3 separate regions of the Homo sapiens genome follow, and regions 1 and 3 are each linked to region 2. Evidence: promoter capture Hi-C in 16 types of primary human blood cells and fetal thymus (Javierre and others, 2016). All regions are on one chromosome and are shown on one strand. The core of a region is centred on a gene start or on the middle of the fragment in contact, and the rest is flanking DNA. Distances in the headings are between cores, read along the strand shown.

Region 1 (2,700 bases), core at 149-2,648, 260 kb after region 2:
AATAAGCAACCAGTAGGGCACAGCTGCTCACACCTGGGAGAGTGCCTGGGCTGTGGAGAGAGGTTGCCTCTCCCTGCCACGAAGGCCCTGTGTAACTGAGGAATAAGATGAGAGGGTATGTGGGGGCAGCACCTCAGGCTTGGGAGATACAAGGGAGAGACAGGCAGCTGCCCCTGCAGCCACAGCCTGGCTCCTGCAGACACCCTCTCCCTCCCCCTCTCTCTGTACACCAGCCCTCTGGTCTCCTCCATCCGGTACTAGGCTGTTTTCCCCACCCCCATCCCCTCAAAGGGAGGGGCAGAAACAAGGCTGGGCATGGGCCTTGACCATCTCCTGCTGCCTCCCTCCCTCCTTCCCTCCCTCCCAAGGACTCTGCTTCGTGATGGGAAATCTGCTGTGACGTCAGGATTCTATTCTCATCTCAGCCACGCAGGGTCTCAGGTGCTCCCACTAGGAATGGGAGCTATGCCAATTAACCCCTTGCTCCCTAGATCCCAGCAGGACCACAAGGGGAGCTGGAACACAGAATGATTCTAACTGCTGGACAGCTCGCTGGGAATGCCCCTGGCCTCATCCACCCTTCCTCCCTGCCAGCCCTCCTACCTTGAAGGTGAACAGTGGCTGTGCGAGAAGAGGCCAGGCCTTTTAGGTTGTGAGCTTCACAGGAAAACATGGTGCTCTGGGTCACCCCTGGGGCCAGAAAACCTCAGTCAGCTCCCCAAGCAGCAACCCCACTCAGTGCGGGACTGGGAAAGGGGAATACTCAGGCTCTGGTCTGAACATCCTTAAATCCCTCCTGCCAAAGGAAGGGGCTGGGCAGTGAGGTACGGTGAAATGAACAGGGACACTAGAGTCTGGTGAGCCTGGAGAGGGCTCTGTTTTCTCATCTCTCAAATGGGAGAATTGTGAGAATCAGGTAATGTGTGTCAAGTGCACGGCATGCTAAATAAGCCCTTGAGAAACGTTATACCACCCTCCCACCTCCATCCCATCTCCCACACACAGCACAAATTGCCCCCCTTTTCTGGTCACTCTTTTATTGCGCATACCAGAGTGAGCCCTTCTGTTTGCTCTGTGCCCCCTTGGGGTTGTTATTTGCAGACTCTCTGCCTTGCAGTAGTTCTCAGCTCTTTATGCACATGTCTTGTCTCCCCAGTTATACTCAGTTCTTTAGCTTCTATTTCCTTTGTATTCCCTCTGTCCCCTGTGGTGCCTAGCACAGTGTGGTGTGGAGTAGGAGTTCAGTGAGTGCTTATTATCAGGCTGCCTGCCTGAGGGTCCCAACCACGCACACCTGGAAGGAAGTGAACCCAACCTCCTCTCTAATCTGCTCCAACTCAGCGCCTCCTGAACAGGACCTGCACTTGCTTCCAAGAGGTCTCATAGTCCACCTCTTGTCAAGATTCAAATTGCTGGAGAACCTAGCTCAGCGCCCATTTCCCTGGCACCTTCCAGCACATGAGACCAAGCTCAGACTCCCATCTTTTTTGCCCAATTCAAGCCTCAACCAGAAACAAATAAGCAAGCCTTTGTTTCACAAATAAGCAAGCCTTACAAGCATGTGAGGGTATGTGCCCAAGAAACTTGGGGCCCAGGTGGGTGTGCAGGTGTGACTGTGCAGAGGTATGGACAGACACAGTTGTTTGAGAAAACGTGTGGAGGTTTCCCGGAAAGCGCCATTAGGGGAGGAGGCCCTGTATCTTTGTGCTAACCTCCCCCTACCCCTTCTCTCTCCCTCCTCTCCCCTCTCTGCAGCCTGAGAGTCTTGTCTTCTCAGTGTCTGCCAGATACTCCTCCCTAGTTCTGCGTGGGCTGGTTTCTGGCTCCTTTCCTTGGGAGGGGTGGGGGATGGGTGCCCCTGGTCTCATACAATTCATCTCTGAGGGCCAGCTGTGCATGGCCTGGACTGCTGTGAACCAAAGGTGGCCCCACACCCTCCTTAAGCACACACAGCAGGATCACCACTAATCAGCCCACCCAGCCAGCCTAGCACACCTGACTAATGAGCTTAGTAATGGTGCAGCTCACGTCCCCAGACACTGGGGCTTGCTCTGGACGCTCACAACCGCAAGCTCAGTGGCTGAAACTGCCAGCTTCAGTGCCCTCCAGGACCCAGCTCCTTCTCCACTCCCAGCCCCCTTCTGAGGCTGCTCACCTGTTACATTTAAAACAGATGGAGAGGGAGCGGGTCCCCCGATCTTCGTAGTTCCTCTCCACCAGACAATGGTAACAGGTTCAGGGGGACCCACAGCCTCACAAGACAGTTGGAAAGGGGCATTGGGTGGCACTGCCAGATCTTTTGGCTCCACTGTGAAAAATGGCACACCTAGGAGAGAAGGGGAGTGAGGAGTGAGCCCTGCCACCTCTTGGCTTCCTACTGTACAAATCACAAGTCTGTTTACATCTGAAGTCCTCCACGCAGAAGGTTCCCACAGGCCCCTTATGATTAGGTCAACAGCAGAACAGGCATCTAGCTTGAGAGGTAGGCGGTGCTTCTCTTTTTCAGGCTCCTTAGGAATTTTTTTTTTTTTTTTTTTTTTTTGAGATTGGTCGCGGGGAGGTCTCTCTATGTTGCCCAGGCTGGCCTGGAACTCCTGGGGGCTCAAGTGATCCTCTGGCCTTAGCCTCCGGAGTAGCTGGGACTACAGGCACACGCCACCATGCCTGGCACCTTAGACACATCTTCCATGCTGCCCCCTT
Region 2 (2,700 bases), core at 28-2,527:
CTGCACTCCAGCCTGTGTGACAGAGTAAGACCCTGTCTCAAAAAATATAAAGTATTTAACCAACAAACATACTCACACATGCGCAGAAGACGCTGCTCCTGCAGACTGGCTTCTTCACTGTTTCCTAAACACATCAGGCATACTCCCAAAGAGGGCTTTGCCTGCACTTACCTTCTAACCTACTTCTTCTACTCTACAATGTACTCATTCAGTACACCTGTGGTTGATTGTCCACGTTCTCACTTAGAATGTAACAGGACATAGACTGTAAAAGACAGATTTGTTTTGTTCAGTGATGTATCTCAAACACACTGAACAGAGCCTGGCACACAGAGATGCTGAATAAGTATTTGTTAAATCAATCCTCAAAGTATTCGTTGCAGCATTATTGAAAACAACGGATTGGACATGACCTAAATGACTAAGTGAATACAGCACTAGCACACAGACGTGAAAAAGACTGAGGTAGAGGAATGTGAAATGATCTCCAAGATACACGGTGCAGAAGAGTGTGTTTAGCAGGCTACTATTTGTACAAAAAAAGGGTAAAAAGTCGTGTGTGCACGGATATAAACAATCTTTCTGTAAGAATGCAAACTGGGGCTGGGAGGAAACCTTGCTTCATTTACATTGCGTACCACTGTATATTACATACCCATCACATACACATGAGCCTGTGTTGCTGTTCAGTGGTAAGAAATCATTTAAAAATAGAAAAAAGAAGGAAGGAGGGAAGAGAGAAAGAAAGAAAAGGAATAAAAACCAAGCAGGGGAAGAGCCAGGGACCATTTGGTCAGCCTGCAATCCTCCCAAAGTGCGACAAGGGAGTTGAGGTCGGAGGTGGGGCGCGTGGGGGAGGAATCCGACCACCAGCTGTGTGCCTTCGATGAGCTTTCAACAAGGGTAACAGCAAGCTGCTCAAGACTGTAGGAAACACAGGGCTTCGCCGCGACCACGGTCAAGACGGCACCGGGCCTTGGGAACAACGTGAACAGAATCACCCAGGAAGCCGCGGGAGCGCGCGAACACGGGAGAAGGGAAGCAGGTTGCCACAGAAGAGCAACCCGAGCGGGGCCTCAGGGCAGTCGCACACACGAGGTTCCGAGCCCCCGGTGTCAGCGGCATCCCAGGGCCCCTCCCGTGTTCGGAAATCGCCGCAGCCTGTGGGAGAGCCACTCACCCCTTGCAGCGGCCGGGAATTCTCGTAACTCGCTCCGCACGGCTTCCAAAGCCGCCTCCGCCATGGCTGCGTCAGCGCCGGCCGAGACCCCGCCTTTCCCCGACGCCCCGCCGCAGGCCACACCCCAAGCACTCGCCCCGCCCTCCCCAGAGTCCCCGCCGCAGGCCACACCCCCAGACCCTCGCCCCGCCCTTCCAGAGGCACCCGCCGCAGGCCACACCCCCAGCACCCCGCCCCGTCCTGCCCCTGGACACACACCGGGTTCTGCCACCGAAGCGGTGGAGCGACTGGCAGCGCCCGCTTCGGCCTGCCCCACTGGCCGGCATCCCAGGGTTAACAAACAATTGTGTTTATTGACAAGTTCATACATCAGTACAAACGGGCACGTTAAAAACAGCGCCCCCGCCCCATGCAGCCGAGGATGAGGCAGGAAGCGCCGCGACCTGCACAAAGTATAAAAGTTATAAATAAGGGGCTTTCAAAACAAGGCGGGGGCAAATCTGGAGTGGGGCGGCGGTTGCCGGTGGCCTCAGACATGCAGAAGGGGACGGGGCGCCGGCCGGGCCACGAGGCCCCCCACCCACATGGGGCAGAGGGCAGGAAAAGGGCGGCCACATTCTCACAAACTTCTGGCGAAGGGTAGCTCCCTCCTCGTGAAGGACCTGGCCCAGAGGGCGAACCTGAGTCCCACCTGCGGTGGGCGCGGCTGGTGTGGGAAGTCGGGGCACAGCAGGCACGGGCCCGCCCCCGCCGCCGCGGGAGTTCCAGGGCCATGCGGGTGGCGATGCTAGAGGAGTGGGGAAGGGCCAGGTTTGGAGCAGCTCAAGCGCACTCAGGCTGATGCCCCGGAGCTGGGAACCTTTTGTAACCCTTTTTCTTTTTTTTTTTTGAGATGGCGTGTAGCTTTGTCACCTAGGTTGGAGTGCAATGGCGCGATCTCGGCTCACTGCAACCTCCACCTCCACCTCCAGGGTTCAAGCGATTCTCCTGCCTAAACCTCCCGAGTAGCTGGGATTACAGGCGCCCACCACCACGCCCAGCTAATTTTTTTATTTTTAGTAGACAGGGTTTCACCATGTTGGCCAGGCTGATCTCGAACTCCTAACCTCAGGTGATCCACCCGCCTCGGCCTCCCAAAGTGCTGGGATTACAGGCTTGAGCCACCACACCTGGCCCAGAACCCATTTCTTTATAAGCCTCTGCCTATGGCGCAGCAGGGCGGGTGAAGGGGCTCTCGTGGCCTGAAGCTGTGGTAAAGCTGCTCTGACTTACCTGCAGCAGAGGGGAGCAGTAGGGCCCAGAAAAACCTTTCCTCAACTCTTCAACTGCCTCACGACATGGTCCCACTCTACCTCCTAGGGTCCCCTATCTCCTTTCCCTCACCCCTAATTACTGCCCTTTTACATTCTAACTTATCCCCTCACCTCTGCCACTTACCTGTCCCATCTACCACTTTTCTAGTGTCTCCTTTGGCCCCAGCACCTCCCTCCTCTCAAACTCCAGTATCCAGCACACCCGTG
Region 3 (2,700 bases), core at 75-2,574, 360 kb after region 2:
CACTGTCTCAAAAAAAAAAAAAAAACCCAACACCTGGGCCGGGCGTGGTGGCTCACACCTGTAATCCCAGCATTTTGGGAGGCCAAGGAAGGCAGATCACGAAGTCAGGAGATCGAGACCATCCTGGCTAACAAGGTGAAACCCCGTCTCTACTAAAAATACAAAAAATTAGCTGGCATGGTGGTGGGCGCCTGTAGTCCCAGCTACTCGGGAGGCTGAGGCAGGAGAATGGCGTGAACCCAGGAGTGGGAGCTTGCAGTAAGCCAAGATCGCGCCACTGCACTCCAGCCTGGATGACAGGGCGAGACTCCGTCTCAAAAAAACAAAACAAAACAAAACAAAAAACCAACACCAAGCACTTTAGGAGGCTGAGGCCAGAACATCACTTGAGGCCCGGAGTTTGAGACCAGCATAAGAAACAGAGAGAGGCTGTTGCTACAAAAATTTTTTTTTAAATCCCAAAGTGAGGCCGGGTGCGGTGGCTCACGCCTGTAATCCCAGCACTTTGGGAGGCCGAGGCGGGCGGATCACGAGGTTAGGAGATCAAGACCATCCTGGCTAACACGGTGAAACCCCATCTCCACTAAAAATACAAAAAATTAACCAGGCGTGGTTGCGGGCGCCTGTAGTCCCAGCTACTGGGGAGGCTGAGACAGGAGAATGGCGTGAACCTGGGAGCCAGAGTTTGCAGTGAGCCGAGATCGTGCCACTGAACTCCAGCCTGGGCCACATAGCGAGACTCCGTCTAAAAAAAAAAAAAAAGAGACTCAGTCTAAAAAAAAATCAGCCAGGCGTGGTGGCGCATGCCTGTAGTCCCAGCTACTTGGAGGCTGAGGCATGAGAATCGCTTGAACCCAGGAGGCAGAGGCTGCAGTGAGCCAAGAGCGTGCCACTGCACTCCAGCCTGGGCAACGGGGTAAGACTCTGTCTCCAAAAATAAAAAACAAAAAATTAAAAATAAGGCCGGGCTCAGTGGCTCATGTCAATAATCCCAGCACTTTGGGAGGCCGAGACAGGTGGATCACCTGAGGTCAGGAGTTCAAGACCAGCCTGGCCAACATGGTGAAACCCCATCTCTACTAAAAATACAAACAGTAGCCAGGCACGGTGGCGGGTGCCTGTAACACTAGCTACTCGGGAGGCTGAGGCAGGGGAATTACTTGAACCCAGGAGGCGGAGGTTGCAGTGAGCCAAGATCGTGCCATTGCACTCCAGCCTGGGCGACAAAAGCGAAACTCTGTCTGAAAAAAAAAAACAACAAATAAATAAAAATAAAAATAGGCCAGGTGCGGTGGCTCACGCCAGCACTTTGGGAGGCTGAGGCAGGTGGATCACAAGGTCAAGAGTTCAAGACCAGCCTCGCCAACATGGTGAAACCCCGTCTCTACTAAAAATACAAAAATTAGCCAGGTGTGGTGGCATGCGCCTGTAGTCCCAGCTACTTGGGAGGCTGAGGCGGGAGAATCACTTGAACCCGGGAGGCGGAGGTTGCAGTGAGCCAAGACCACGCCATTGCACTCCAGCCTGGGTGACAGAATGAGACTCCGTCTCAAAAAATAAAAATAAAAAAATAATAATAATGGTAAAATAAAATATAAATAAATAAATAAATAAATCCCAAAGTGTTGGGATTACAGGAGTAAGCCACTGTGCCCAGTCCACCTAGACCACAGAAGCAGTGCTGGAACCTACATAATAACCTGTATTAGTCTGGAGGGTTTTTTTTAACCTCAATACAATTCCCTGGTGTAGAAGTCACTTGGTATGCAACATGAAACTTTTCATTCATTGGTTTTTCAAATGAACAAATCTTTTAGATTATGTAACTCCCAATGAACACTTCATAGATGCCTCCCTTCTCCCTTTTATACTGAAGGGAGAATAGAGAAAATTATTCTACATCCAAATCTTCCAGGCCCTTGGGCTCCAAGTCCTCCTCTTGGCAACAAGTCATGAAGGATTCCTGGGCACCTCACTGCTCTATGGGGATCCCACTTGGAGTCTACTTTCCATCAAATGCTGAGAGAAGAGTGATCGATTTTTTCAGTAGCTCCTGCCCTCAGTTGAGACTAATTATACTGAAAGCATGGACAATTGTCCAAGGGAAGAAATACCAACCCGGTAAACTGGTTTGCTGTTGTGGTTTCCGATGCCAATCCGCACAAAACATCCTGTGACAGTTTTAGCAAAGAAGGGCATGTGACACCAGCGTTCTAGCTTATGCCGTGATAATCGAACCCGATTCAATTCTTCAGGTAAGGAAACTGGTTGGGATTTGGGAGGGATCTCTTCTTTCCTAAGAGGAACAAAGGGGCACTGGAAAAAATGTTCATCATAAAAACAGAACAAGACAGAAAAATAATATCAACTCCTCAAAACTTAACCAAAGTACATGTGACTGGCCTAGGAGGAGAAGTAAATGAAGCACCAGCAAAGACTTGTAATAGGATCCTGTTCCTGACCAGTAGTATGAGCTGTTTCAAATGAGGCTGCCATCTTAGATAACCCATCAGAGTAAGAAAATGAATGAGCCTGTAATCCCAGCACTTTGGGAGGCCGAGGCGGGCGGATCACGAGGTCAGGAGATCGAGACCATCCCGGCTAAAACAGTGAAACCCTGTCTCTATTAAAAATACAAAAAATTAGCCGGGCGTAGTGGCGGGCGCCTATAGTCCCAGCTACTTGGGAGGCTGAGGCAAG

The links. Contacts are between HindIII fragments. The CHiCAGO score rates a contact against its expected background, and 5 or more counts as called.
Region 1: a fragment that was not itself captured here is called in contact with the fragment with the promoter of JMJD7 in region 2 in 1 of 17 cell types (endothelial precursors); the score reaches 6.7 in endothelial precursors.
Region 3: a fragment that was not itself captured here is called in contact with the fragment with the promoter of JMJD7 in region 2 in 1 of 17 cell types (M0 macrophages); the score reaches 5.2 in M0 macrophages.

Annotation. Positions count from the first base shown.
Region 1 is chr15:41,562,174-41,564,873 of GRCh38, reverse strand. TYRO3 (TYRO3 protein tyrosine kinase) reads right to left here. Exons shown (of 19, transcript NM_006293.4): 4 at 2,156-2,326; 5 at 604-690. Among named protein-coding and RNA genes, the nearest start is that of TYRO3, 4.3 kb to the right of the region's middle. RefSeq lists enhancers at 1-437, 1,814-2,501. The HindIII fragment of the contact is 3,171 bases long and covers 1-2,700 here.
Region 2 is chr15:41,826,669-41,829,368 of GRCh38, reverse strand. It overlaps JMJD7 (jumonji domain containing 7), which reads right to left and starts at 1,277. Exons shown (of 8, transcript NM_001114632.2): 1 at 1,181-1,277. The coding sequence starts at 1,244. MAPKBP1 (mitogen-activated protein kinase binding protein 1) reads right to left here. Exons shown (of 31, transcript NM_014994.3): 31 at 1,514-2,700. JMJD7-PLA2G4B (JMJD7-PLA2G4B readthrough) reads right to left here and starts at 1,277. Exons shown (of 25, transcript NM_005090.4): 1 at 1,181-1,277. The coding sequence starts at 1,244. RefSeq lists a silencer at 1,300-1,389 and enhancers at 1,124-1,418, 1,450-1,679. The HindIII fragment of the contact is 18,805 bases long and covers 1-2,700 here.
Region 3 is chr15:41,470,768-41,473,467 of GRCh38, reverse strand. RTF1 (RTF1 homolog, Paf1/RNA polymerase II complex component) reads right to left here. Exons shown (of 18, transcript NM_015138.5): 8 at 2,119-2,296. Among named protein-coding and RNA genes, the nearest start is that of ITPKA, 22 kb to the left of the region's middle. The HindIII fragment of the contact is 4,459 bases long and covers 1-2,700 here.